Linked DNA regions of Homo sapiens: all the other regions are linked to region 1. Evidence: promoter capture Hi-C in 16 types of primary human blood cells and fetal thymus (Javierre and others, 2016). All regions are on one chromosome and are shown on one strand. The core of a region is centred on a gene start or on the middle of the fragment in contact, and the rest is flanking DNA. Distances in the headings are between cores, read along the strand shown. Region 1 holds the start of CFAP36 (cilia and flagella associated protein 36). Region 2 overlaps ASB3 (ankyrin repeat and SOCS box containing 3). Region 3 holds the start of ERLEC1 (endoplasmic reticulum lectin 1).

Region 1 (4,800 bases), core at 1-2,500:
AAAAAAAAAAAAAAAGGCACATAATGATCATCTTCATGCATTCAGGTAAGATACTGTGTGCACATTCACAAAATAAAAATAGACTAAAGGATGGTTTATGGAATACTATGCAGTTGCAAAGAAAGCACAAATTTATATTTTTAAAAGATAAAGATATAAGAAAAAAATTCATAACTGTACATATAATCCTATTTATGTAAAAAATATATATATATATATGGTTGTCTGAAGATATTTTGGGACTCCAAACACCTTCACAATGACCACTGAAGACCCCATTCCACAATGGACTCCACCTAAATGCTGAGTTGGAGTTATAATAAGATTTGGTTACCAAGGCATTTATTTAAGTGAGTATTAACTTTGCTCTTGCCCTTGAAAAGCTCCTAATTCTAGTTATCTTTATCCAAGCGTAAGAGATTAAAGACCCGCCTGAAGATACAGATGCAAACTGACCGTAAGACAATCAGCGAGTCTCACACAGCTCGGCTTTGTATTTTCAGACAACCCTTTAATTACAAACGCCTCTGGGCCAATGGTCTGAAAATGGTTGGGACTGAGGTGCTGGGGATACAATGATGAACTGCAGCCGCTGAAGCCCTGTCAGGTGGAGACCCGGTTACCTCAGACCCTCACTGAGCCTTTTCTTTTTTCTTTTCTTTCTTCCTGTTTTTCTTTTGAGACGCAGTCTCCCAGGCTGCAGTGCAGTGGCTCACTGCAACCTCGGCTTCCCGGGTTCAAGCGATTCTCCTGCCTCAGCCTCCCGAGTACCTGGGATTACAGGCGGCGCCACCACGCCAGGCTAATTTTTGTATTTTTGGTAGAGACGAGGTTTCACCATGTTGGCCAAGCTGGTCTCGACCTCCTGACCTCAGGTGATCCGCAAGCCTCGGCCTCCCAAAGTGCTGGAATTACAGGCGTGAGCCACCGCGCCCGTCTACTGCGCGTTTTCTAAACCTTGGCTCCTACGCATTTATCAGAAGAGAGAGCGCAATCTGTCTATGACTTCCAGCCAATAGCTACACTTCTTTTCTCAGCCCTCGTCCACTGTTCTTTTTTAACCAATCAGAAACGTTTTTCAAACGTTTGCCCTCCCCGCTAAGTGCGCAGGCTCCTGGAAAGTTGTCTTCACTTCCGGGCCGCGGTCTAGGGCGGCTACGTGTGTTGCCATAGCGACCATTTTGCATTAACTGGTTGGTAGCTTCTATCCTGGGGGCTGAGCGACTGCGGGCCAGCTCTTCCCCTACTCCCTCTCGGCTCCTTGTGGCCCAAAGGCCTAACCGGGGTCCGGCGGTCTGGCCTAGGGATCTTCCCCGTTGCCCCTTTGGGGCGGGATGGCTGCGGAAGAAGAAGACGAGGTGGAGTGGGTAGTGGAGAGCATCGCGGGGTTCCTGCGAGGCCCAGACTGGTCCATCCCCATCTTGGACTTTGTGGAACAGAAATGTGAAGGTAAAAACCAGAGCCCGAACCGACAATCCTTTTCTCCTCTCTCACACCAGCGGCGGGCAGGGGGTTGGTAACCACAAGCCATCTCTCGTCTCCCCGACCCCCTGTCTCCACCCCTGTCGCAAGGTCTCGTTCCCCTCACCACCTTCTCCACCCGCGTCATCAGGTTTAGAGCTGGTTGTGTGGGAGGAATTCCTTTCACCCTGCCAATGTGTTCCTTCGCAGACCTGAAAACGGGGACCGAGACTCCCCTTCTCTGGGGCCGAAGCGCACGTCCGAAGAACATTAGACTTGAATCGTAAATTCGGTCTCTCACCCTGTCCCGAACGTTTCTGCCCTCGGCAGGTGGACTGTTTGGCTGGGCTTCTTCAACAGCTTTGCCAGACTTGAGAGGAGAAGCGTCGGTTTACCTGAGTTCCTTATGATCCCTAGCATTTCGCCCGGTGTAGTCAGCTTAGGAAATGAGAAATGATTTCACTCCAAACCAACAGTTAACTGCAAAGGAGGGCATGTGATAACTCCAGGAAGCCCAGAGCCGGTGATTTTGGTGGCCTGTGTTCCCCTTGGTGAGCTCTCTACTCTTCGCTATACCAAAAATTGGCGAGGTGGGGCAGGACCATTCTTGGAACAAATGAGGCGTATAGATATGGCATAATATTCCCCGTGAAGGACAGGCATCTCCGGGTTCTGAGCAGTTCTTCAGGCTTGGAGTTCTGCATTCAGTTCGTGGAGACTATTTGCAGCCCATTCGCAGAAAAGGAACCAGAAACCACGTCATATAAATGAGTGCCCAAGCGTTATTGTGGTTGTTTAATCGGGCAAGACTTTGAGGGTAGTAGTATTCATCAATTATTTGAACATCTGCTTTGTGTTGTAAGGTTGAGTAGAATAGAGCTAGGGTCAGTTGGTACAAGCTACAGGGAAACAAATTTCAGTGAAGGAAGTGTTTCATGATAGAATGTATCCAAGATGAGTTAGCCAGCCTCAGAAGGTAATGAGCTTCCCGGCTCCAGCAGTGTTTGAATGGATCTGATAGCGACTTAATAGGGTTAGAGGGATTCAGCTATTCAGCTATCAAATGGTCGGTTATCCTGGATGACCTTTTAAGACTTCTTTAAATTCCAAGATATCATGAATCTGGTAAAGATGAAATTCAGTTTGACCACTGAATCTTTTCATTACATTTTCATTGCTATAATCAATATTCAAATCGTAGTTATTAAAGTGTTATTTTTACAGGTAATTTTTTAACAATGTTCAAAAACAAAATAACTTGTATTTGTACTCCTTTTTTTTTTTTTTTTTTGGGAGACAGAGTGTCGCTCTGTTGCCCAGGCTGGAGTGCAGTGGCGTGATCTTGGCTCACTGCATTGTTTTATACATATGATCATTCAGTAAACACTTGTTTTGATTTTATTTAACTTCATTATTTATCTGTGGTAACAAAAATTGCCTGGTCACTTTCAGTAACATTTACATCAGCAAAATTCCAGTACAATAAAATAATATGGAACCTATTGTAAAAGGATTTAACCATTAACAATAATATTACATTAAAAGTTATGAAGAAATTATTGCCTCATATTGATTGAAATGTGTTTTTGTCTTAAATATGAGGTAGTATTCATTTTAAATATTTTCTCAAGTAGGCAAAAAAGCTTGTTTACAATTAATAGTATATATGTGTGTGTGTGTGTGTGTGTGTGTGTATATTTTTTTTTCTTTTTTTTTTTTGAGATGGAGTCTCACTCTGCCGCCCAGGCTGGAGTGCAGTGGTGCAATCTTGGCTCACTGCAACCTCCGCCTCCTGGGTTCAAGCAATTCTCTTGCCTCAGCCTCCCGAGTAGCTGGGTCTACAGGCGCGCACAACCACGCCTGGCTGATTTTTGTATTTTTAGTAGAGATGGGATTTCACCACATCAGCCAGGCTGGTCTCGAACTCCTGATCGTAGGTGATCCACCCACCTTGGCCTCCGAAAGTGCTGGGATTACAGGCATGAGCCACAGTGCTCGGCCAATAGTATATATTTTTAGATATATTCATTTATATATTTTTAAAAGATAAACCCTAAGAATTCAAAGCTGAAGAGCTAGGTTGACAGTTCTATTTGGAAGGAGTGGATTTTTAAATTTGCATTAATAAAATGATTTGGTTTTTACACTATGTAATATTTTCTTTTAAATTTAGTTTTTGATGATGAAGAAGAAAGCAAATTGACCTATACAGAGATTCATCAGGAATACAAAGAACTAGTGAGTATTTTTTTTCACTGATTTTTAAAAGTAATTAGGCTAATACTACTTATAGCTTTTCTAAATGAAGAAAAATATTTTTACATTAAAAATCCTTAATTTTACAAAAATCCAATCTACCTTAACAATAGTGCCAGTTATATCTGTCTCCACAGGTGCTCTGAATATCTCATTTGGATGACTTATCTCCTCTACTCTAAGGAATGGTTTTACAACTCTTTATGGGTTCTTGCATGTATTCTTTATATCTTATTCTTATTTTGTTGACGCATCCAGGGACATATTAATTATTCACTTCGTCATGGTTGTCATGTGATTTTTTTATTTTTTATTTTTGAGACAGGGTCTTGCTCTGTCACCCAGGCTGGAGTGCAGTGGCACTATCACAGCCTATTGCAGCCTCAACCTCCCCAGGCTCAAGCGATCCTCCCATCTCAGCCACCTGAGTAGCTGGGACTACAGGTGTGCACCACCATGCCCTGCTAATTTTTTTGTATTTTGTAGAGATGGCGTTTCTCTGTGTTTCCCAGGCTGGTGTGGAACTCCAGAGCTCAAGTGATCCACCTGCCTGGGCCTCCCAAAGTGTTGGGTTTACAGGTGTGAGCCACTGCCCAGCCTGTCTTGTGATTTTAAAAAATGCCTCTGGCAGTGGGGCTCAGTGGCTCACACCTATAATCCCAGCACTTTGGAGGCCAAGGCAGGTGGATTGCTTCAGCCAAGGAGTTCGAGACCAGCCTGGGCAACATGGTGAAACTCCATCTTTATAAAAATTACAAAAATTAATCAGTCATGATGGCATGTGCCTGTAGTCCCAGTTGCTTGGGAGGCTGAAGTGGGAGGATGATCTCTTGAGCCCAGAAGGTCAAGGCTGCAGTGAGCCATTACTGTGCCACTGTACTCCAGTCTGGACAACAGAGTAAGACTCTGTCTCAAAAAAAAAAAAAAGAAAGAAAGAAAGAAAAGGCCAGGCGTGGTGGCTCATGCCTATAATCCCAGCACTTTGGGAGGCCAGGGCAGGCGGATCACCTGAGGTCAGGAATTCGAGACCAGCCTGACCAACATGGTGCAACGCCATCTCTACCAAAAAAAAAAAAAAAAATT
Region 2 (4,800 bases), core at 1,040-3,539, 1.8 Mb before region 1:
ACATTGAAGGCACTCCTCCTGATGAAATCTAAACTGCACGACCCCTACTATGCCCCAATACAGCAGGAAGCACTTAAGAGCAGTCGTCGGCCAACCTCCCCAACAGCACTTGGGTTTTACTGTTGAGAGGGGGGACTGAGAGACAGGACTAGCTGGATTTCCTAGGCAGACTAAGAATTCCTAAGCCTAGCTGGGAAAGGTGACCGCACCTACCTTTAAACACCGGGCTTGTAACTCAGCTCACACCTGACCAATCAGGTAGTAAAGAGGGCTCACTAAAATACAAATTAGGCTACAGCATGAGGTAAAGAAATAGTCAAATCATATATCGCCTGAGAGCACAGAGGGAGGGACAATGATCAGGATATAAACTCAGGCATTCGAGCAGGGAGCAGCAACCCCCTTTGGGTCCCCTCCCGTTGTATGGGGGCTCTGTTTTCACTCTATTAATCCTGCAAATGAAAAAAAAAAGGCAGAAGGAGAATTCATTCTCTCTTGAACTAGGACATGCATCTTCTCCTGCCCTTGGATACTGGAGATCCTGATCCTCAGGCCTTCAAACTCCAGGACTCATACCAGTGGCCTCCCACACCCCAGTTCTCAGTCCTTTGGCCTCAGACTGAGAGTTACACTATCACTTCCCCTGGTTCTCAGGCCTTCAGACTTAGGGTGAGTTACACCACCAGCTTTCCTGGTTCTCCATCTTACAGAGAGCATATGATGGGACTTCTCAGCTCCCATAATTACATTAGCCAATTCCCATAGTAAATCCCCTCTTGTCTATCTATATATATTCTATTGGTTCTATTTCTCCAGGAAACTCTAACTTATCAAACAGTAATTGCACTTCTAAAACTCCATCCTACAGAAATGGTTAACCATGTAGACAAAGATATATACATAAGGATGTTCACTGAATCACTAGTTATAACAGCAAAACTTTAGGAAACAAACAAAATATCTATCAATAGAAGAATGGTTACATAAATTACATTACATCTCTACCATGAAATACTACACAAAAGTGTTTTCACTCAAGAGAGCAGAAGAGTGACTTGGTCTGTTGCATTTTAAAATGATCCCTCTAATATATTGAGGGTGGTCTGTCATAGGATGCAGAAGGAGCAATGGCAGATAGAGAAGATCTGTTAAGATGCTATTATAGCAACGCAGACAAGGTATTAATGGTAGTGAGAAGTGATCTAACTGTGTGTGTGTGTGTGTGTGTGTATACATACACACAAATATAGACATACACATACACAAATTTGCTGACTGACTAGATGAGAAATATGAGAAAAAGAAAGGAATTAATGATGGCCCAGAGTTTCTGGCCTGAGCTGGAACAATGGAATATTTCTATCTAACAGATGAAAAAACTAAACCACTTAGAGGTTAAAAAACCTGTCCAAAGTCACACCAATAAAATGGTAGAGTCACTAGAATTCAGGTCCATCTGACCGTAACTCTTAATCGCTGTGCTACAATGATTTATTTGTCTAAGGAACTTCTGCATCTGTTACTGTGCCCAGTATTAGTGCGTATTTTCTTATTTAACATGAACTAATAAAAAATACTATGAGCTAGATCATTTATTAGCCAAATAAAAGTATTTTTTAGCTATATGCTTAATAATTATAAGATTTTTAAGGGACTTTTAGTCAGCAAATGACTTATTATTGAATGGCATTAATTGTCAGTGAAGATCATTACTGCCCTCCAGGATGACAAGCTTCATAAAATCTCAACACCCATTACACCCAACCTCCAATACAGGAGAGAAGACAAGCAAATTTGTTATCTGTGCTAATATGTTAAACAGAAAACTAAAATGAGATACATAAGAAATACAAAAATATGTATGCATATTAAACTTCTATGTAATCTACACCACACTTGAATGCTCTTCTCCAACTTGAGTCAGAAGACCATGTATGGTACTCAGAATGGATTCCAAATCTAAATTGAAGAGACAGTGAAGCAAAACTCTTCTAATCATTTTAGATATTTCCATTTTATTTGTGTAGGCCTACATACCTTCTTATTTGGGTGCACTAATTATCTTTTAGGAATCTCTGACAGTGTATTAATATTAGATAAACCTCAGGGAGGTAGGAAAATTATATAATAAAAGACAGCAGGTGTGATGCATCACACCTGTAATCCCAGCACTTTGGGAAGCCAAGGCAGGAGGATCACTTGAGCCAAGGGTTTGAGACCAGCCTCGGCAACAAAGTGAGACAGTTAGCCAGGCATTGGTGGTGTGCACCTGTAGTCCCAGCTACTTGGGAGACTGAGGCAGGAGAACCGCTTGAATCTGGGAGGTGGAGGTGGTGGTGAGCTGAGGTCGCACCACTGCACTCCCACCTGGGCAACAGAGCAAGACTCTGTCTCAGAAAAAAAGGAAATACAGTCGGGCTTCTGTATCCACGGGTTTTGCACCTGCAGATTCAACCAACTGGGATGGAAGATAATAGCATTTGTAGGATGTGGAACCCACAGATACAGACGGCTGACCTTTTGTATGTGTGTATAGGACGTTTTCCTATCTTCAGGGCAGACTGCCGAACTTGAGGAGCATCCATGAATTTTGGTGTCCGTGGACATTTTGGGACCAATTCCCTGTGGATATGGCAGGACAACTGTAGAGATGAATTTAACAGCCAGTTCAAATGCCTTTAGTCAAAAGCATGCCCAAGTTTACTCAGCAGATGAAAAAAATCTGTAACATAAACTACACTATTCCGATATGAAGAAGAGATGTAACAGTATATTGGAAATGAGCTTTTTGCCTAGAAAAGGATATTCAAACTCATGTCTTTGTTACTAAAAATAGTTTGGGAACTCAAGCTTTATAGTTAACTTCAAACAGATTCTGAAAACATATCTTAAGCGTTTGAAATTAGAGGAATAACATCTATTTTTCCACTATCTTCAAACACTCAACTATAATAGACACTAGACACTTGAACATGTGATTTTAAAAACAATCATGACAAATTTCCTGCATTATGATTTAGGAAGTTTAGCCTTACCATCTCTTACCTGTTAAGACAAAAAAAAGAAAAAAACAAAACAACAACAACAAAAAAAACACCTACCACTACCAAAAACAATGTAAAGATTATTTCCTTTCCCGTCCAGCAGGTAACAAATTAGTAGTTCTGATGGGCTATGGACCCAGAAGTTTATATTTTAAGGACCTATACCTGGTGATGACAAGTATGCAGGAAAGAGGGTCTGAATTTCCACGATCAATGAAATGAAATTGGTTCTGAGTGTTACAATGCAGAGTATTATAGTCAACCTCATTTTAACTGAATGCTATAAATTCATTCAATTAAATGTTAGAAGCTTGGTATGAGAGGAAAAAAAAGGGCTTTAGAGTCAGAGAAATGGGTTCAAATCAAATACCCTAGTTTATTATGTAACCTTTTACAAGTCAACTTCTCTGAGCCTTGGTCTTTTCACCAATAAAATGAGGATAATACTGCCTCTAACACCATTTTTATAAATATTAGATAAAGAAGATAAATTGAGCATGTGGCACAATGACTATCACAAAGCAATGCTCAGTCACCATTTGTTTTCTTCCTACCCCCTCTATACTAAATGTCAGAATCTCGCCTTTAGTCAATGACCTTCACTCAGTAGTGTGCTGGTTAACATTTAATAACTAGCTGTCCAGAGGGAAGAAAGCCCAGTTTATAGCACTGGTTTGTAGCACTGGCTTGTTTCTGTGGTGTAAATACTCCTACCATGGCCGATCCCAAGCATGAAGTCACTGAATGCAGAGATGTAAAGAGATGTGCAGTAGCACACCATTTTTGTCTATCCCATCTGTTTTATTATCTCTACTTTGTTTTATTTTCTTCATAACACTTTTACCTTTTTAAATTATCTTGTTTAATTATTTAGATATTTGTCATCTGTTTCCTCTGACAAGAAAAAGCATCAGGAAGGCAGGCATCTTGTTTCATGCTAAGTAGTTGTAAAAATTCCCAAAAGTATTAAAAAGTGTTTAAAAAGAAAAAGACTAATTCAATCAAAACACATCCTCAATTTCAGTACAATTGCTCTTTCTGTTTGGTAAAGGAAGAAAGAATAAACATGACCAGTAACTACCAAATGCTTAAATTCAAACAGCAGACTACTTCTCCCATATCACCTAGCTCAGTCAATAAAAAGAGGCCAGACAGAGGCACTTCCGTATAAGATGTCCAACTAGAGTATCATACTAATTGAATCCAAGGCAGGCAATCTTACTATCCTTAATAAATAAATTCAGGCAGTTATTTTATGACTATAGAAAGGGAAACAAATACTACTGTTAATAAGTTATGTATTATACTTTTTTATGTTTTATTAATCCAGCTTGTAGGCAAAGCCTCCATACCTTGAATTTACTTTACCTGCATTAATTAACATTTGCAAACATTCTACAGAGTTGTGATAAGCTGCTTCATGAATTGGCATCCATCCCCTGTTATCAGCAACATCGACACTTCGGCCCTTTTTGAGCAGTTTCCTTAAGACTTTAACATTGCCTTCCCTGGCAGCAAGTCCAACTGTAGAGCACGTGTCCGCGTAAGCCTCTGTAAAATCCATTTGTTTGACCAGTCTACAAAACAAGGTAGAAGGATAATACTATAGTCAATAAAACAACACTTCACTCCTAGAGGTCAGCAAATCACGGTGGGCCTGTCTAGTATCTCTCACATGACTGACGAAGAAGGGCCCACAATACAGAAAGTGACTGCCATGCCACAGTCTCTGCTGGTGCCTAAAGCAGGAAGTTTC
Region 3 (4,800 bases), core at 1,577-4,076, 1.7 Mb before region 1:
TAAATAAAGCATAAAAGACTTGTACTGATTGATGTCCTGTGGCTCCTTAAAATGTGTAAAACCCAAGTGTAGCCCGACCACTTTGGGCACATGCTGTCAGGACCTCCTGAGGCTGTCTGTGACACGTCCTTAACCTTGGCAAAATAAACTTCTAAACTGGTTGAGACTTGTCTCAACTACTTTTTGGTTTTCATCCTCTATTACCTTCCTGAGGCTGCTGTAACAAATGACCACAAACTGAGCAGCTTAGACAGCATAAATTGATTGTCTCACAATTCTAGAAACTAGAGGTCAGAAATCAAGATGTCAGCAGGGCTATTCTCTCTCTCTGAAAGCTCTAAAGAAGGATTCTTCCTTGCCTCTTCCTAGCTTGTGGTGATTACTGGCAATCTTTAGCATTCCTTGTCTTATAGACACATACTGCAATCTTGCTGCCTCCTCCTTCCTGGCATGGCATTCTCCCTGTGTGTCCATGTGTATCCAAATTTCCCTCTTCTTATAAAGATACCAGTCACCAGATTAGGGCCCCCTTTGATTCAGTATGACCTCATCCTTACTTGAATTATATTTGCAAAGACCCTATCCCAAGTAGTTCACACTCACAGGTTCTAGGGGATAGGACTTAAACATGTCTTTTTGGGGAACACAATTCAACCCACAACACCCCCTACAATCAATTTTCCACACAGCAGCCACAATGATCTTCACAAATGTACATCGGGTCCTGTCCACTCTCCTGCCTACAGAGCTGTCTCCCTGGCCTCTTTCTGCTTCTCAAACTTCTTCTACCACTTTCCTCTTACACTCCAGCCACACTGGCCTTCTTTCTATCACTCCAACACATCAAGCTCATTCCTGCCTCAGGGCCTCTGCCTAGAAATTTGTCTGGCTCCCTTCTTTTCATCATTCAAGTCACAATTCAAATGTCACTTCCTCACAGAAGTCTCCTCTGACTTACGTACTAAAAGCAACACATCCTACAGGTATTGTCTTTCACATAACCTTAGTTTCTTTGCAGCACTTACCAATACTAGAAATTATTTTACTTATTTAAGTTCCCCTCTTACTTGAACATCAGCTCTATTGAACACAGATTCAATCACTATAGCCCTAAATGCTAAAACAGGACCTCACAGACAGTTTTCATTTTTATTCCGTCAAATACATCTCTTTTCCTTCATGACTTAAGACTAGTGCTTAGCACAGAATAAATGCTAAAAAAAAAAAAAATTGACTATTACTACTATAATAGTTTGCAATTATTTGTTTGTACAATCTCCCTGCCTAGACTGTGTGACCAAAGACAGAAACCCATTTATTTGGCATTTTACCAAGCCCAGGGGGGCCAGGCACAGTGGCTCAGGCCTGTAATCCCAGCACTTTGGAAGGCCGAGGAGGGCGGATCACCCGAGGTCAGGAGTTCGAGACCAGCCTGGCCAACGTGGTGAAACCCTGCCTCTACTAAAAATACAAAAATTAGGGTGTAGCGGCGCGCGCCTGTAATCCCAACTACTCGGAAGGCTGAGAAAAAGGAGAATCCCTTGAACTCCAGAGGCGGAGGTTGCAGTGAGCCAAGATTATGCCTCTGCACTCCAGCCTGGGTGACAGAGCGAGACTTTGTCTCAAAACAAACAACAACAACAAAAATCCCAGGAGTCTGGATCACATTAAGCATTAATAAGAAGTGCTGAATATAATTAGCGAATAACAATTCTGAAGAAAGTTATCTTCTTTGATACTATGGATTCCTGATGTTAAAAAAAAATTTTTAAGATAGAATATGGGACTGTCCTTCCTGCTTTTTGATTTGGTTCAAATCTGAGGAAGTGGGGGCGACCAGTCTTTAACAGATCTAGCAAGACTGTCGAGCTTTAGGGAATGGTAATTTCTCTAAAGCCAACACTCTATGTCCATTATATTGGAGATCAAAACAGACAATGGCATTTTTTCTAAAGAGGGGGAGGGAAAAACAAAACTTTTTGTCTAATTTGGGGATGCAGTCAGACGTGACTTAGTTCATAAACACACACATTCATCTGGCGCTAAACCTCACATAAGGAACCTTACCAGCTTCCTTGATAAAACAACACCCCAACACTTCAATCTAGAGATGGAGGGTAAAAATGTAGGGTTGTGATGTCTAGCTGCCCATTCCACGAGAGTCGCCCACCACGCCAAATTCGGAGGCTTGCGGTATTCACCTACGGGGAGATGGCGGGCTACCTCACCCCAGGTTTCCCCTAACACAGAGTTGCAGTCGCTGAACAAACTGCCCTGCGTTAGTCAGAAGCTGTTAAGTAACGAGATGGCCACGGTCCACAGCAGAAGAGATGGAGATAAGCCTCAAGCGGGAAAAATGAAGTGTACAAATGCCAAATGCGGAGAAAAAGAAGAAAAGCTGCAAGAAGGCAGGTCAGTCAGGAACACCGCCATTTCTCACATCTCATCGCTACTTCGAATTTTCTCATCTAAGGACCCGCACCCGCACGGTTCACACTGTCTTCTTCCCGCTATCACTCCGTGTGGGTCAAACCTCTGCCTGCCCACTGGAGAGCAGCGGGAATGGCTTCAGGAAGCGGCTGCCGCCTCCGAGACTCACCGACCTGCCGTGCTGCCACTTCTACACCGAAATGGCTGGTCCGAGGCCGCGTCTCCAGAGCTGCGTCCCAGAAGCCCCCGCTTTCGATCCCCACCGCGATGCTGCAGCCGTCCGAAAACGAGAGACGCGCAGGCGACGTCCCGGCCCCCGTAGGCGGACGGCTCCGCGACCCCCGGATGTTGATATGTCGTCTGCCCCGGAAACGGTGACAGGAGGCTCAAGGGGGCGGAGGCGGCGTTGCCGGGCTCTCCGGAAGGAGACGTGGCGGCGGTTGGGCCGGTGATACCCGGGCGCTTTATAGTCCCGCCGCCTCCTCCTCCACCTCCTCCTCCTCCTCCTCTCCTCCTGGAGCAGAGGAGGTTGTGGCGGTGGCTGGAGAAAGCGGCGGCGGAGGATGGAGGAAGGAGGCGGCGGCGTACGGAGTCTGGTCCCGGGCGGGCCGGTGTTACTGGTCCTCTGCGGCCTCCTGGAGGCGTCCGGCGGCGGCCGAGCCCTTCCTCAACTCAGCGATGACATCCCTTTCCGAGTCAACTGGCCCGGCACCGAGTTCTCTCTGGTCAGTGCCCTCACTAACCCCGCAGCCACCCCTCCTCCTGACACTAAGGGTTCGGCCTCTTCCCTCGGTTTTCTTTGCTTTTTCTCCCCAAGACCTTCTCTGCAGACTCTTACCTTCCCCAAGCCAAAGCTGCTTTTATGCAGCGTTCATTCATTCGTTCGTTCTCACGTTATGTGGATGCGTCCCCCTTGCTGAGCATTAGGGATCCAGCAATCACCTGCTCTCCACCTTTTCAATTCTGTCGCACTAGACCTTGCTTCCCAACATTCCCACCCTGCAGAAGCAGCTTTCGTAGAATAACGTCAGGTGCACTTACTCATCTTCCTTTCGGAAAATTAACTGTGGCTCTTACTTCACCAGCAGACTTCTTTCCTTCAGTATTACATGTCACCCTGCCCACACCACAGTACTTCAGACTCGAGTTCCCTCTCTCGTATTCGTTCTCCCTCAGTTGTATACACACACGGACATACGCAAACGCACAGCTCCAAGGGAACTTTTTCCTTTCCTAGTTGTTTCTGAGAGGGCTATTTGGCCTGTGAGATGTTAACGACCCTTTATGCAGAATATCCTTTACAGTTTTCATGTATTACGACTGTTATTTGAGTCCCCAGAACATGAGCTTCTATGTTGAGTTTTCCTGTAGTGAAGAACATTTGTAACCTCGCGGAAATGAAAATTCCCTCTTGGGGGAGTGGACCGCTGAAAAGTCTTCCTGTCCACGTGTACCTACTGCAGGCTAATAAATATTGTACTCTTATGACACTTACCATGTAGTAATTAACTCATTTACTTCAAATTGAAGTCCCGGAAAAAGCAAAATTTTTTTAAACTTTTTATTCCAATTACCTTCAAGCATTCAACTTGCAATACTTTATTATATTCTTTCATTACCATTTCATTGAAACAGTAAGTGACACTATGATGTCAAAACAAGATGTGTCAAGTTAATGGATGTTATTACCACATAGCTTTCTATTTGCAAGTGTTAGGGGTTTTTTGGTTTGGTTTGGTTTGGTTTGGGTTTTTCTGTTTTTGTTTGTTTTTTGAGACAGGGTCTCAGTCTGTTGCCCATTCTGAAGTGCAGTGGTACGGTCACCACTGGCTGCAGCCTCGACCTCCTGGGCTCAAGAGATCTCCTCAGCTTCCCAGTAGCTGGGACTATAGGGAAATCCCACCACTCCTGGCTAATTTTTTTTTTTTTTTCTAGAGGCAGGGTCTCACTATGTTGCCTAGGCTGGTCTCGAACTCCTGGGCTCAAGCAATCCTCGTGCCTGAGCCTCCCAGAATACTGGGATTACATGTGTGAACCAAATGTTCTGAATTTATCTAGGTAAATATTTTTCTGGGACGTCAAATTTCTCTTTGTATTAATGCCACAAAATATTGATACATTGAAATACCTATGTAAAATTTTGTTATGAATCAGATATAACTTTAGCAGGCTTGGAAGAGAATACTTTAATACCTGTTGTTGTATCCAAAGAGCACACTTGGAGTGAATATGGCAGATGTTTGAAGAATTATGTCATTAAAATTTTTTACTCTTGGCACCTGTGTTTTTTTTAATTTAAAAAAACTTGCTGATATGCAGCCCTGAAAACTTACTATAAGCGAGCGACTAAAACTAGCATTTTTAGAGGTC

The links. Contacts are between HindIII fragments. The CHiCAGO score rates a contact against its expected background, and 5 or more counts as called.
Region 2: a fragment that was not itself captured here is called in contact with the fragment with the promoter of CFAP36 in region 1 in 3 of 17 cell types (naive B cells, activated CD4 T cells and naive CD4 T cells); the score reaches 7.1 in naive B cells.
Region 3: a contact is called between the fragment with the promoter of ERLEC1 here and the fragment with the promoter of CFAP36 in region 1, in 2 of 17 cell types (total B cells and naive CD8 T cells). The highest score is 9.4, in total B cells.

What each region holds. Positions count from the first base shown.
Region 1 is chr2:55,518,468-55,523,267 of GRCh38, forward strand. CFAP36 (cilia and flagella associated protein 36) reads left to right here and starts at 1,251. Exons shown (of 10, transcript NM_080667.7): 1 at 1,251-1,449; 2 at 3,635-3,699. The coding sequence starts at 1,335. RefSeq lists enhancers at 552-601, 1,782-2,031. The HindIII fragment of the contact is 7,670 bases long and covers 1-3,102 here.
Region 2 is chr2:53,760,965-53,765,764 of GRCh38, forward strand. ASB3 (ankyrin repeat and SOCS box containing 3) reads right to left here. Exons shown (of 10, transcript NM_016115.5): 2 at 4,413-4,621. The coding sequence starts at 4,608. It overlaps GPR75-ASB3 (GPR75-ASB3 readthrough), which reads right to left. Exons shown (of 10, transcript NM_001164165.2): 2 at 4,413-4,621. Among named protein-coding and RNA genes, the nearest start is that of CHAC2, 4.4 kb to the right of the region's middle. The HindIII fragment of the contact is 1,118 bases long and covers 1,731-2,848 here.
Region 3 is chr2:53,784,218-53,789,017 of GRCh38, forward strand. ERLEC1 (endoplasmic reticulum lectin 1) reads left to right here and starts at 2,827. Exons shown (of 14, transcript NM_015701.5): 1 at 2,827-3,155. The coding sequence starts at 2,994. It overlaps ASB3 (ankyrin repeat and SOCS box containing 3), which reads right to left and starts at 2,736. Exons shown (of 10, transcript NM_016115.5): 1 at 2,604-2,736. The region is part of intron 1 of GPR75-ASB3 (GPR75-ASB3 readthrough); the gene reads right to left. RefSeq lists enhancers at 2,226-2,884, 2,400-2,819. The HindIII fragment of the contact is 9,655 bases long and covers 1-4,800 here.